Regions from separate parts of the Homo sapiens genome. Here region 1 is linked to region 2. The links are contacts of gene promoters, found by promoter capture Hi-C in human tissues and cell types (Jung and others, 2019). All regions are on one chromosome and are shown on one strand. Each heading gives the region's core, a stretch centred on a gene start or on the middle of the fragment in contact. The rest is flanking DNA. Distances are from core to core; before and after follow the strand shown. Region 1 overlaps AGR3 (anterior gradient 3, protein disulphide isomerase family member). Region 2 holds the start of TSPAN13 (tetraspanin 13).

Evidence for each region. Contacts are between HindIII fragments. The study calls those that stand out against the background at their distance.
Region 1: a fragment that was not itself captured here is called in contact with the fragment with the promoter of TSPAN13 in region 2 in 4 of the 25 tissues and cell types used here (H1 embryonic stem cells, IMR-90 fibroblasts, aorta and 1 more).

What each region holds. Positions count from the first base shown.
Region 1 is chr7:16,864,494-16,870,456 of GRCh38, forward strand. All of the region lies in intron 3 of AGR3 (anterior gradient 3, protein disulphide isomerase family member), which reads right to left. It also overlaps the pseudogene RAD17P1. Among named protein-coding and RNA genes, the nearest start is that of AGR3, 15 kb to the right of the region's middle. The HindIII fragment of the contact is 5,002 bases long and covers 427-5,428 here.
Region 2 is chr7:16,749,797-16,755,919 of GRCh38, forward strand. TSPAN13 (tetraspanin 13) reads left to right here and starts at 3,959. Exons shown (of 6, transcript NM_014399.4): 1 at 3,959-4,234. The coding sequence starts at 4,172. The HindIII fragment of the contact is 15,712 bases long and covers 1-6,123 here.

The sequences.
Region 1 (5,963 bases), core at 1,678-4,177, 110 kb after region 2:
GTTCCCTGTCAGTCAGGGCTTCCATTTTCAGTCTTCCGAAGTGTTGCTTCAGAGGGAGCCTTCCAATATCTTGGATAAGAGAAATCTGAGCTTGATTTCTCATTGGAATGGTTATTAGAGCAAGGTATGGCAGTAGCTGAGTTTGGAGGCATAAAGCTGGTAGGCAGAAGTCAGGAAAAAGTGCTTTTGCTGCCAGGCAATTTTCCCCATACTTTTTATGTATTAGAAACCACTGCGGTGTGTGCGAGGGTCAAAAACTTGATCCTTCTCCTTGGCAATGAGCATATCCTCCGGCTTTGTTGGAATGTATCACACCTCTTGTAGCTATAGATGTCCTATATTTCCTGAGTAAAGAGCGTGTATTCCAGTCACCACTGAGGATACCTGCAAAACTTAGAAATTCACTGGCTCTCACAATATCATCAATTTCCATGAAGAAGTCTATGTAGTTTTGGTGAAGATATAAATTAAATAAGTCTCCTGGCATGTGTGACATTTCTACTACCTCCTCAGGTTCAACAAGTATGTATCCTGTTCATATTCTGATAAATGAGAGGGCAACCAAGATGAGTCTGATTCTGTTAAAGATGCTCTTTTACTGTATAAAATTTTCCCCAAAGCTCGGAAGAGAAACAGAGAAACGTCTTTGCCACCAGTAGCTTGGACCTCTTGACTTTCAAAAACCCTATCAGTTTTTTTTCTTTGTTTTGATTTTGACAGCGTAGCATTTGATTTTAAAGACATTCTTTTTTTCCTTGGCCATAAGTTGTTTTCTCCTTTTGAAGAAGAAATCTGGAGGCTGTTTATTGCACTTCTCATATCACCAGAACATCCTTGACAGAGCACCTCTAGAGAAGTTTTGTCAGGGACAGTAATTTTTCCTCCATTCTTGTTAGCCTCTATAGTCACTATTCGATTAAGAAATTTCATCGTAATTGTTGGTGCCACAGGGTTGAAACTAATATTTGAGGTAGAATGCTCTTCCCGAATTTCTTTGGGGAACAAGAAACTTTGATTATTTTTACCACTGAGACTGTCACAGATTATAAATATAAAAGGATATCGACCAATCTTCACATACTTCCTTAGAACTTCATGTAAAGTATGAGAATCCCTATAAACTGGTTAGGTAAATCTTCAACCAGAATTATCTTCTTATCAGTTCTCAGATGATCTCCAAGCATTTGTAACTTGTTATACTTTGTTGCTCTTAGTAGAAACTCTTTGCAAACTGCTATCTGAGACTGATAGGGAAACATATGGAAGCTTGATTCAGTATGAAACATTTCCTTGAAATCATCTTTTTGGAAATCTGGTAAAACTGGATTAATCCACTCTTGTACTTGAATACCATTCTCCTTTGATAGCGTTTTTTTGGTCGTTGTCTTTCCACATCCAGGAGGACCTGTTATTAATAAAATAGATCCATCCTGTTTTGGTTGCCTTTCTAAGACTTGAGCTTTTTACCAGGTTTCAACTTCTTCAATTATCTTTTCATGCACAGCCAAGTTCATGCTAACTTTCTGGTTTATATTTATCTACCCATGGTTCATTTTCAGACAGATAGTCTTTTGAATTTTCTAAACCATATATCTGTTCTAAGGAAGACAGATTTCCTATTTTTCTAGCTGGAAATATCTTACTTTCTAATGTAGAAGGCTCATTTTTTTCTCTATGACTTGAGTTATTCACACCTAATGATGTGGCAGTAATAGTAGAGATGTCTCTATACTCTAGAAAATCATTGAATGATGGGTCAATCCAGTCTGTTACCTTTGTGGAAGATATCTTTGGTCTAAGAAAAGTTTTTGACATTATAAACTGTAATAGTTCCCATCCATAGTATAGGACCTGTAGTACATTAAACTATAATTCACCTCCTTTAAAAAGCAGGTAACTGTCCCTGAAGATGCCAGGTTCCTGAAATGAGAGACCATGCTGTTGTTTTAAAAAATGATTTTGCACATAGGTGGGTATGTTTGTGAATACATTTCCAGAAGTAGAATTTCTGAGTCAGAGTGTGTGCATTTATAATTCTGATATATACTCTCCATAGAAGCTGTACCAATTCATATTCTCTCTGGTAGTGTGAGCAGTAATTGTTTTTGCTATTCTCACTAAAGCTGGTTATTAGTTTAAATTTTTTTTATCCAACAGGTGAAAAGAGGGAAACGAATGTGGTTTGTCTTTCTTATAAAAAATAGTCAATCTTATATGTTTGAGTTACTTATTTTTCTGTTCTGTGAACTTCCATATTCTTTGCTCATTTTTTTCTGTTGACTTGTTGACCTTTTTCTTGTTAATATATAGGAGTACGTTGTATATTAGAGAAAGTCACCCTTCTAATATGTGCTGCAGTTTTCCATTTAAAAGAATATTTTTCCTTTGTAAGTTTTTGGTTATCCAGAAAATTCCGTGTAATTGAAAATATTAGTAATTTCTTTTTAGACTTTTTCTTTTATCTTCTCCTTTTCTTTGTTTGGCTATGCTCAAGCCTAGCAGACAGCACTAGCATGAGGCCAGGGGAGCATCTACAGGACTAAAATTAGAGGCTTTATTTTTGTACCCCAGGTATCTTTCTTGCCTCACTATAATCTTGGCTCTCCCCTATTCCAAGCATTTAAAGAAATAAAATTTTGCAGTGGTATCTTCTAGCACCTTAATGATTTAATTTTCATAATTATATCTTTCTAATTTATTTTTGCATAAATGTGAGATATGGATACAAATTTATTTGTTTTTCCCAGATGACTATCAACTTCTGACACTAATTATTACATAATCTGTCTCCCCTATTCCTGATTTAAAATACCACTTCCTGTATTAAAAAATTCCTGTAGTATCTATCTATCTATGGAGTTTGTCAACTACCTATCAATAATCTATTTATTTATTTGACAAGTAAAAGTTGTATATATTTATGGTGTACAGTATGCTGTTTTGATATATGGATATGTTGTACAGTGGCTAAATCAAGCTATTTAACATATTCATCATCTCACATACTTATTTTTTGTGGTGAGAATATTTAAAATTTACTGTCAGCAATTTTCATGTATAAAATATATTGTTATTAACTATTATTCCCACAATGTACAACAGATCTCTTCAATTTATTTCACTTAACTGAAATGTGTGTCCTTTGAGCAAGAACTCCCCATCCTCACCCCCAGACTTTAGTAACCACCATTTTCCTTTGTTTCTATGAGTTTGACTTTTTTAGATTACACATGTGAGATTACGTGACATTTGTCTTTCTGTATCTGGCTTGTTTCACTCACCATAATGTTCTCCAGGTTCTTCTATGTTGTTGCAAATGACAGTGAACATGGGAGTGCAGATATCTCTTAGACATACCGATTTTATCTTTTTGATACATGCCCAGCAGGGAATTGCTGGATCATATGGTAGTTCTATTTTTAATTTTTTTGAGTAATCTCTATACATTATGCTTTCCATAATGGCTGTACTAATTTACATTCCCACCAACAGTGTAAAAGGGTTCTCTTTTCTCCACATTCTTGCCAACACTTGCTATTATTCATCTTTTTGATAATAGCCTTTCTAAAAGGAGTGAGGTGGTATTTCATTGTGGTATTAATTTGCATTTCCCTGATGATTAGTGATGTTAAGTATTGTTTTCATCTACCTGTTGGCCCTTTGTATGTCTTTTTTTTTTGAGATGGAGTTTCGCTCTTGTTGCCCAGGCTGGAGTGCAATGGTGCGATCTCGGCTCACCACAACCTCCGCCTCCCAGGTTCAAGTGATTGTCCTGCCTCAGACTCCCGAGTAGCTGGGATTAAAGGCATGCACCACTATGCCTGGCTAATTTTGTATTTTTAGTAGAGATGGGGTTTCTCCATGTTGGTCAGGCTAGTCTCGAACTCCCGACCTCAAGTGATCTGCCCACCTTGGCCTCCCAAAGTGCTGGGATTACAGGTATGAGCCACGGCGCCCAGCCTGTATGTCTTCTTTTAAGAAATGTCTATTTAGGTCTTTTGTCCATTTTTAAAACACAAATTCCATTTTTGTTTTGTTATTGAGTTTCTTGCATATTTGCTTCTTTTCAGATGTATGGCTTTCATATATTGTCTTCTATTCTGTTGGTTATTTCTTCACTCTGTTATTGTCTCCTTTGCTGTACAGAAGCTTTTTAGTTTGATGTAATCTCACTTGCCTATTTTTGCTTTTGTTTCTCATGTTTTTGAGGTCATATGAAAAAAAATCATTGCCCAGACTAATGTCTGGGTATATAGAATGATTTTTAAATACCGCTTTAATTTTAAGTGGATTGTGAGCATCAAAGGAGATAGGCTCTTTGGATAGCTATTCAGGATTTCCTTCATTTCAATGGCTGAATAGTATTTTATTGTGTACATATACCATATTTTATCAATTCATCTGTTGATGGTCAGAAAAGATAGTTGATATAATTTAAGTCTTCTTAAATTTGTTAGACTTGTTTCATGTGTCATGTGATCTGTTCTAAAAAATAATTCCTACGCTATGAGAACGTATCTTCTCTTGCTGTTTGATTAAATGCTCTGTATATGTTTGTTAGGTCCATTTGGTCTAAAGTGTAGTTCAAGTCCAATGTTTCCTTATTGACTTTTTGGATGATCTATTCATTGTTGAAAGTGGGGTGTTGAAGTCCCTTACTATTATTGTGTTGTAATCTATTCCTCTTTTCAGATCTATTAACATCTGCTTTATGTATTTAGGTACTGTGATGTTGGATGAACATATATTTATAATTGTTATACCTTCTTGGTAAATTAATCTCTGTGTTATTATATAATGACCTTCTTTGTTTCTGTTTACATTTTTTGATTTAAAGTCTGTTTTATCTAAGTATAGCTACTTTGTTTTGTTTTGTTTTGTTTCCATTTATATAGTATATATTTTTTGATCCTTTCAATTGCAGTTAATAAACATCCTTCAAGGTGAAGTGAGGCCTGGCATGGTGGCTCATGCCTGTAATCCCAGCACTTTGGGAGGCCAAGGTAGGAGGATTGCTTGAGCTTAGGAGTTTGAGACTAGTCTGGGCAACATGATGAAACCCTGTCTCTACCAAAAGTACAAAAATTGGCCCATGTGGTGGCACACATTTGTAGTCCTAGCCACTTGAAAGGCTGAGGCAGGAGGATCGCTTGAGCCTATAGTTGGGGCTTGTGAGTTTGTTTTTTTTTTTTTTTTTTTTTGCAGGGGGCAGGGGGAACCTGTTTTTTAATCCATTGAGTCACTCTATGTCTTTTGATTGGAGGTCCAAATCCATTTACATTCAAAGTTTTATTTCTATACTTTTATTATATTTTATTTATTTACAAGTAATATACTGTTTATTATTGCTTTGTAAAATGTTTAATAATGATTAAGGCCTAATCCCTATTGCTCTCTTTTCAGAATGTTCCTAACTATCCTAACTACTCATGTCTATTATTTTTTCATTTCAACTTTAGAATTATCTTTTTAAAAAATCTTATCACAATTTATTGTGATCATCTTAAAAAGTTTTTTAAGTATAGAGAGAATTGGCATTTTTATGATGTTAAGTCTTTCTATCCAAGAATATAATATGCACTGCCATTGGTTTGGAAATTTCTTTTTTCTTTTCAGTGTATTTAGGTTCTTATAGATTTTGCATATCTTCTGTCAAGTTTATTCTGGGGTATTTTCTTTTTTGTCATTGTAAATGAGGTATTTAACAAGTTTTTTTGGATGTGTTTTTCTATATATAAATGCAGTCAATTTTTAAATATCAATTTATTCTCATCTAATTCAACAGAATTTTTGTTATTCTGAATATTTAAATTTTTTTAGTTTTTCACGTATATAAATTATCATTTGCACATAAAGATAATTTTAACTTTTCCTTTCTACATTTTCTACTTTTTCCTTCTATAATTGTGTTAGTACTTCAGAAAAATGTTAGTAATTGTTGTGGTTGTAGATATACTTGTCTT
Region 2 (6,123 bases), core at 2,709-5,208:
GGCACATCCCTTATTCTGTCAGGCTGCTGGTGTGGTTGCCTAAGTCCATCTAAACTATAGTTAAGCTGAATTAGGGTTTGTTATAGGTTTAATAGATTCAGTTCATTATTGGCTTCAAATATTCTTGAAGGCATGATCAAGACTTTCCTCTTACAGAAAGGAGGTCTGCATAGAGATTTCTTCGTGCTTTGCAGCCTAGCCACCAGCAATCTGAGCCTTGGGAGATCTTTGTGCTTTACAGCCTGCTACCTTTTTGTTTGCTGGGGAATAGTCTTTGCTCTCCACTCACATCCTTGGCTTTCTGTATCTTGTGAGATCTCTTGCTATCCTGTGTGGAATCCTATTCCAGCCATTGGAGGGCTCTTTCAGTGTACCATAGAGAGAGTTTTCTTTTCTGCTGCTACGTTAGTCCTGGAGTTAAAGAACCAGATTGCTTTGCTGGAATTTTTCTTATTTTTCCTCACTTTACCCCAGCTTTTAGCCACTATCTTGCATTTGGGGAAGGCTTATACACCTTGAAATAGTTGGAGATGAAGAATATCTATTAGCACTTGACATGGTTTGGCTGTGTCCTCACCCAAATCTCAGCTTGAATTGTATCTTCCAGAATTGCCAGATGTTTTGGGAGGTACCCAGGGTAGGTAATTGAATCATGGGGGCCGGTCTTTCCCATGCTATTCTCGTGATAGTGAATAAGTCTCATGACATCTGATGAGTTTATCAAGGGTTTCTGCTTTTACTTCTTCCTCATTTTTCTCTTGCCACCACTATGTAAGAAGTGCCTTTCGCCTCCCACCATGATTCTGAGGCCTCCCCAGCCATGTGGAAATATAAGTCCAATTAAACCTCTTTTTCTGCCCAGTTTCAGGTACGTCTTTATCAGCAGCATGAAAACGAACTAATGCAGCAATCTTGCCTGACCACGGCCTTTGTAGCTTATATGTCTTGTTTTAAAAGAAAGCCCATGGGTTAGAGCTGGCAAATAGTTGCAGTCATTCTGTAGCTGGGGCTCTGGATTATAAACTGTCACATAGTCCAGGTAGGGGCAGTAGAAGATGGTTAAATAGTCATTTAGTTTCTCCTTATCCCTCTCAAAGGTAGTTTCTCCCTTCCACAGCCAGTCTATAAGAGATGAAAGTGACTATGAGTTTTTTTCCCCCTCTAATAATGTCTCATCACTTCTTGGATTTTAGTTCCTCTAGTGCCTTTAGCCCCTCAGTTCTTCGATAGTTTTTTGTTGTAAGTATGATTTGGTAGCTTATCTAGCTTGTTTTTACTTACTTTGAGACAGGGTCTTGGTCTGCACCCAGGCTGGAGTGCTGTGGCGCCATCATAGCTGACTGCAGCCTTGATCTCCTGGGCTCCAGCAATCCTTCCCCCTCAGGCTCCTGAGTAGCTGGGATAGCTGGGATTACAGGTATGCACCACCACACCCAGCTAATATTTTCAATTTTTAGTAGAGATGGGGTCTCACTATGTTGTCCAGACTGCTTGTTCTTATTAGGGTGGGAACAAATGGTCTTTTGAAAATTTCTATATCCAAATCAGGAGAAATTGCAACATGTCCATTTGTTTTCCTATTTTCAGACATTGTTTTGTTTCCTCTATCAAAAGCCGTATCTCCTATCAGACAACTCTCCTACAACTATAGCTCTTGCCTGGCTTCTGTAACTGTTCCCTTAAATCACCCCCTTAGTCTTAGGGGTAATTAGAACTTCCTGCTCTTACTATCTCTGAGCTGCCTCATCATGCTTTGTTGGTTTCCTTTTCTTTTTGAGACAGAATTTCACTCTGTCACCCAGGCTGGAGAGCAGTGGCGCGATCTTGGCTCACTGCAACCTCCACCTCCTGGGTTCAAGTGATTCTCCTGCCTCAGCCTCCCAAGTAGCTGGGATTACAGGTGCCCGCTACCACGCCTGGCTAATTTTTGTAGTTTTAGTAGAGACGGGGTTTCACCATGTTGGTCAGTCTGGTCTCAAACTCCTGACCTCAGGTGATCCACTACCCTCGGCCTCCCAAAGTGCTGGGATTACAGGTGTGAGCCACCGCACCCAGCCGGTTTCCTTTAACTTTGTCCACACTTTTGAAAATAGTCCCTTTTTGAAATTCTTCTCAGTTATGCTATTTGAACGAGTCATCTCCTTTTTGCTGGGACCCTGACTGATAGGTGGTACTTCTCTGGGAAAACAAAGTGATTCAGCCTATAGGGAGATAGTGAAGATATTATGCAGAAGCCAAAGAGAGAGTTGCAATAGTTGGTTGAGTGATAGTTGAAGTGGTACTAATGTTGGTGACACCCAGGAATGGGAAGAGAATGAATAGATTTCCCTGCCAATGCCTCATCTTTTGTAAACCTCTGGCTATTAAAAAGGAAAGTTGAGCATCATCAAAGCATTGTTTGTGTTTGAGGATCATTTTCCAGGTTAGTTTTTGAAATATTTCTAGCTGTATATAAAAGGTTAATGTGGAATAGAAAGCCTAACAAATTAATGAGGTCTTGTTGGTATGGTGGGGTCAGGGGAGGGAAGGAGAGGCTGGAAGAGGGAGCAGAGAATTCTAAGAAGACGAATTATTTTAATCAGCTGCAATGTTTAATTTAATTTAATACAATTTAGCATTTGCAATTACATAATTTACTCCGTATGAACCTTTAGGTTAGATATAGTATTGTAAACTTGCAAATCTCTTTATAAAACCTTTTTCTTTGGTAGAAACTACTATGAAGTAAATAAACCTTTATTGCCTTCGCTTAGTGCCTGGAACACAGTAGGCCTTTACAAAATGTCAGATCTATGAATACTAGCTGACATTTATTGAGGCCTTCCCCTGTGCCAGCCACTATGCAAAAAGTGCTTGACATACTTCTAAAATCTCAATTTATAGGTGAGGAATTAAGGATACAAGATGCATTTCTATAGTAGAGAAGCAGTAAACTGATAATGAATTAATTGAGGTGAAGTCTGAGTTATTTGAAGATTTTCAGTTATTTTTGTGAAAAAATAAGTTTATTGAAATTCACGACCAGAACACAAAAATAATCTCTCTTGATTTTCTTTTTAAAATTTTTTAAAAAACTTTTGTTGACACGTAGCAGATGTATATATTTACGGGGTACATGAGATGTTTTGATACAGGCATGCAATGTGAAATAAGCACATCACGGAGAATAGGGTATCCATCCTCTGAAACATTTATCCTTTGAGTTACAAACAATCCAATTACATTCTTTAAGTTATTTTAAAATACACAATTAAGTTCTTATTAACGATTGTCACTTTATTGTGCTATCAAATAGTAGGTCTTATTCATTCTTTCTATTTTTTTGGACCTATTAACCATCCCCACCTTCTCCCGCTCTTGATTTTCCTTTGCATGCATGTATTCATAAAGTTTATTAGTATTTTGCAAATCTTTGTAGGATAAGTCTGACCTGTCCAGGTCACAATTATAGGGCACATATCTTATTTTCTGAGAGAAGCAGGGATTTTATTTTATTTTTTATTGTTTCACTTATTTTCTCCCTTTCATTTGCCTCTACTTCGTTCTCTTTTAAATCTTTCACATGTTTTCATTCATTACTTGCTTCCTGCCTTCCTTCCCTCAAACAAGGCCAGGTGCTTAGTTTTGAAATCTCATTCAAAATGGTGCCACGTCATCTGCCAGGGCCAAGAATCCAGAGGTGCTGTCATATTTCTCCTTGCCAGCGTGGATCTCCTCCGAGCCCCGCCCTCCCTCCTCACCTGCTCCTGGGGAAACTACACCAAGGCCGCCGCTCTGGCCTGGGGCTCCCTCCCACACGGCCTTGGCCCTCTCCCCCTCGCCCCGGGACCGCTCCGCCCCTCCCGGATCCCGGTCGGCGGAGCGCATTTATTTGCATATTTCTACCTTTGTTCCCTGCCAGCGGCCAATCAGCGCGCGGGGCGAGACGAAGGGGCTGGGCGGGGCTCGGGCTCCTGCTCCGGCTCAGCTGCGGCGGCCGCAGGTTCCAAAGCGGGTCCGAGCCGCCGCCGCGCGCGCGCCGCGCACTGCAGCCCCAGGCCCCGGCCCCCCACCCACGTCTGCGTTGCTGCCCCGCCTGGGCCAGGCCCCAAAGGCAAGGACAAAGCAGCTGTCAGGGAACCTCCGCCGGAGTCGAATTTACGTGCAGCTGCCGGCAACCACAGGTTCCAAGATGGTTTGCGGGGGCTTCGCGTGTTCCAAGAACTGCCTGTGCGCCCTCAACCTGCTTTACACCGTGAGTATCCCCAGTCCGTTCCTGCTCGCTTGGGGGCTTTGCACCTGCTTGGGAGCTCTTTGGCTTCCCTGCCTGGTCAGCGACTCACTCGTTGCATCCCGCGCCCCCTTCCCGGCTTCCCACGTCTGCGCGCCCCCGGCCTCACCATCCGTCCCCGCCGGGGACCGGGCGCCGGCGCTTGTCGCAGTCTCTTCCTTTCGTTCATTGTGAAGCCGCGGTCTCTCAGGCTCGCTGGCCGCGTCTCTGCCACATTGCTCCACCCCGCCCCCTCACCCACCGCCTTGTTTTTCAAACATTCAACCGGACCTCTCCGCTTTCCCACCCCGTACCCTTCTGCCGCTCGCTCCTGACATCCAGACGCATCTGGGCCAGGCGTGGAGGCGCGAGAGCCGTCAGGGCTTGCGGACAGTTTTGCGGAATGGCGTGGCCTGAAACTGACGAGGCGGCATATGGCTGGTGTGCCTCTGGGTTAGCTCTTGGTACCCTCGGGATTTTAATTGAGGCCACTGAGTAGGTTCACAGGATGTCCGCTGCTTCCGAAGTTTGTTTCGTGCTCACAGTAAAGGGATGTCTTTTTGTTTTTGTTGTTGTCAGTTTTGCTAGTACTTGGTGCTTTTTCTGTGTGTCTTGTCCATGATCAATATCCTAACTCCATTTTAAACCAAGTCCTCCAGGAAATAAGCGAGCCCCCACCCAAGTCGTTTCTTTCCCTGCCAACCAGCTTGGGCCTCTTAGTTTTAACGCTGCAGGCTCTCTTTGTGATTTTTTGAGGCGCAATTCTGGGTGAACAGGAGGATGGGCAGGACAGATCGACATTTATTGAATGCCTATCACGTCCCAGGTTTTACATACACAATGCTCGTTCATCATTCTGACAACCTTCTGAGGGAATGGGGCATTATCTGCATTTTATACATAAGGTAACAGACCAAAAAGGTTTTAGTAAGTTTACATAGCTGGTAGTTGACGAGTCAGGAGTGGAACCTAGGCTGTGGAATCCAGATCTTTCCACAGGCTGTCTCTACCGGGCGGAAGAAACTTCCTCTTCTGTCATCATCCCTCCATAGTAGTCTTGCTCCCTTCTATAAATATACCTGGCGCTTTGCAGCACCCACCCTGAAAACAAACCCAGCACCCCTGCATTAGCAGAGAGCTAGGCCATCTGTGCAAGCTTAGATTACCTCCTTGGAATAGAGAGGCTGCCTTGTGGTCACCAACAGGAGAAGGAGGTTGGGTCATTTTACCTTTACTGTTCCTTTGTATGTGAACATGACTGCAAGCTTTGAAGGCAAGACAGAAACAGGCATTGAGTACGCTTTTATGGCTAGTTAGTAAGAATCTGGTCAACATGGTCATTAATAGTAGACTTGGGAAAAAAATTTTAGAACACCTGGTGATACAGTTCCTTGGAGATACATGTCAAGTTTCAGATCAAAATTCATCTGTATCACCCTGAGGTATGCTTATCACCCTGGCTGTTTATTAAGTAAATGCTGACCAGTTCTCTAGGGTTTTTTTTTTTTTTTTTAAATCAGTGTGAGTGGCCTGCTTGGAACTTTAAATTCCTTATTTTGTGACCTGAGTTCTGTTTTTTTTCTGCCAATGATTTAGTCATCTGTTTGCCAGACACTTAGTCTTACAGTGCCTGCTTACACAGAGTGGAATGTCTACTTTGCATACTTACTTCACTGAAGGGTCTATATCAATGTATAATCTTTTTTAAAAAGGCAAGTTATTTTAAAATGAAGTTCCTTGCTTTCTAGACATCATTTTTAGTTGTATTTAGAGTATATCAGGAAAGTGAGGCGAAAGAAAGGTGATTCTAAAGGGACATATTAAGACTATTTAATATCTATTCTAAATTATTGACCTTCAAAGTGTGTGTTCTA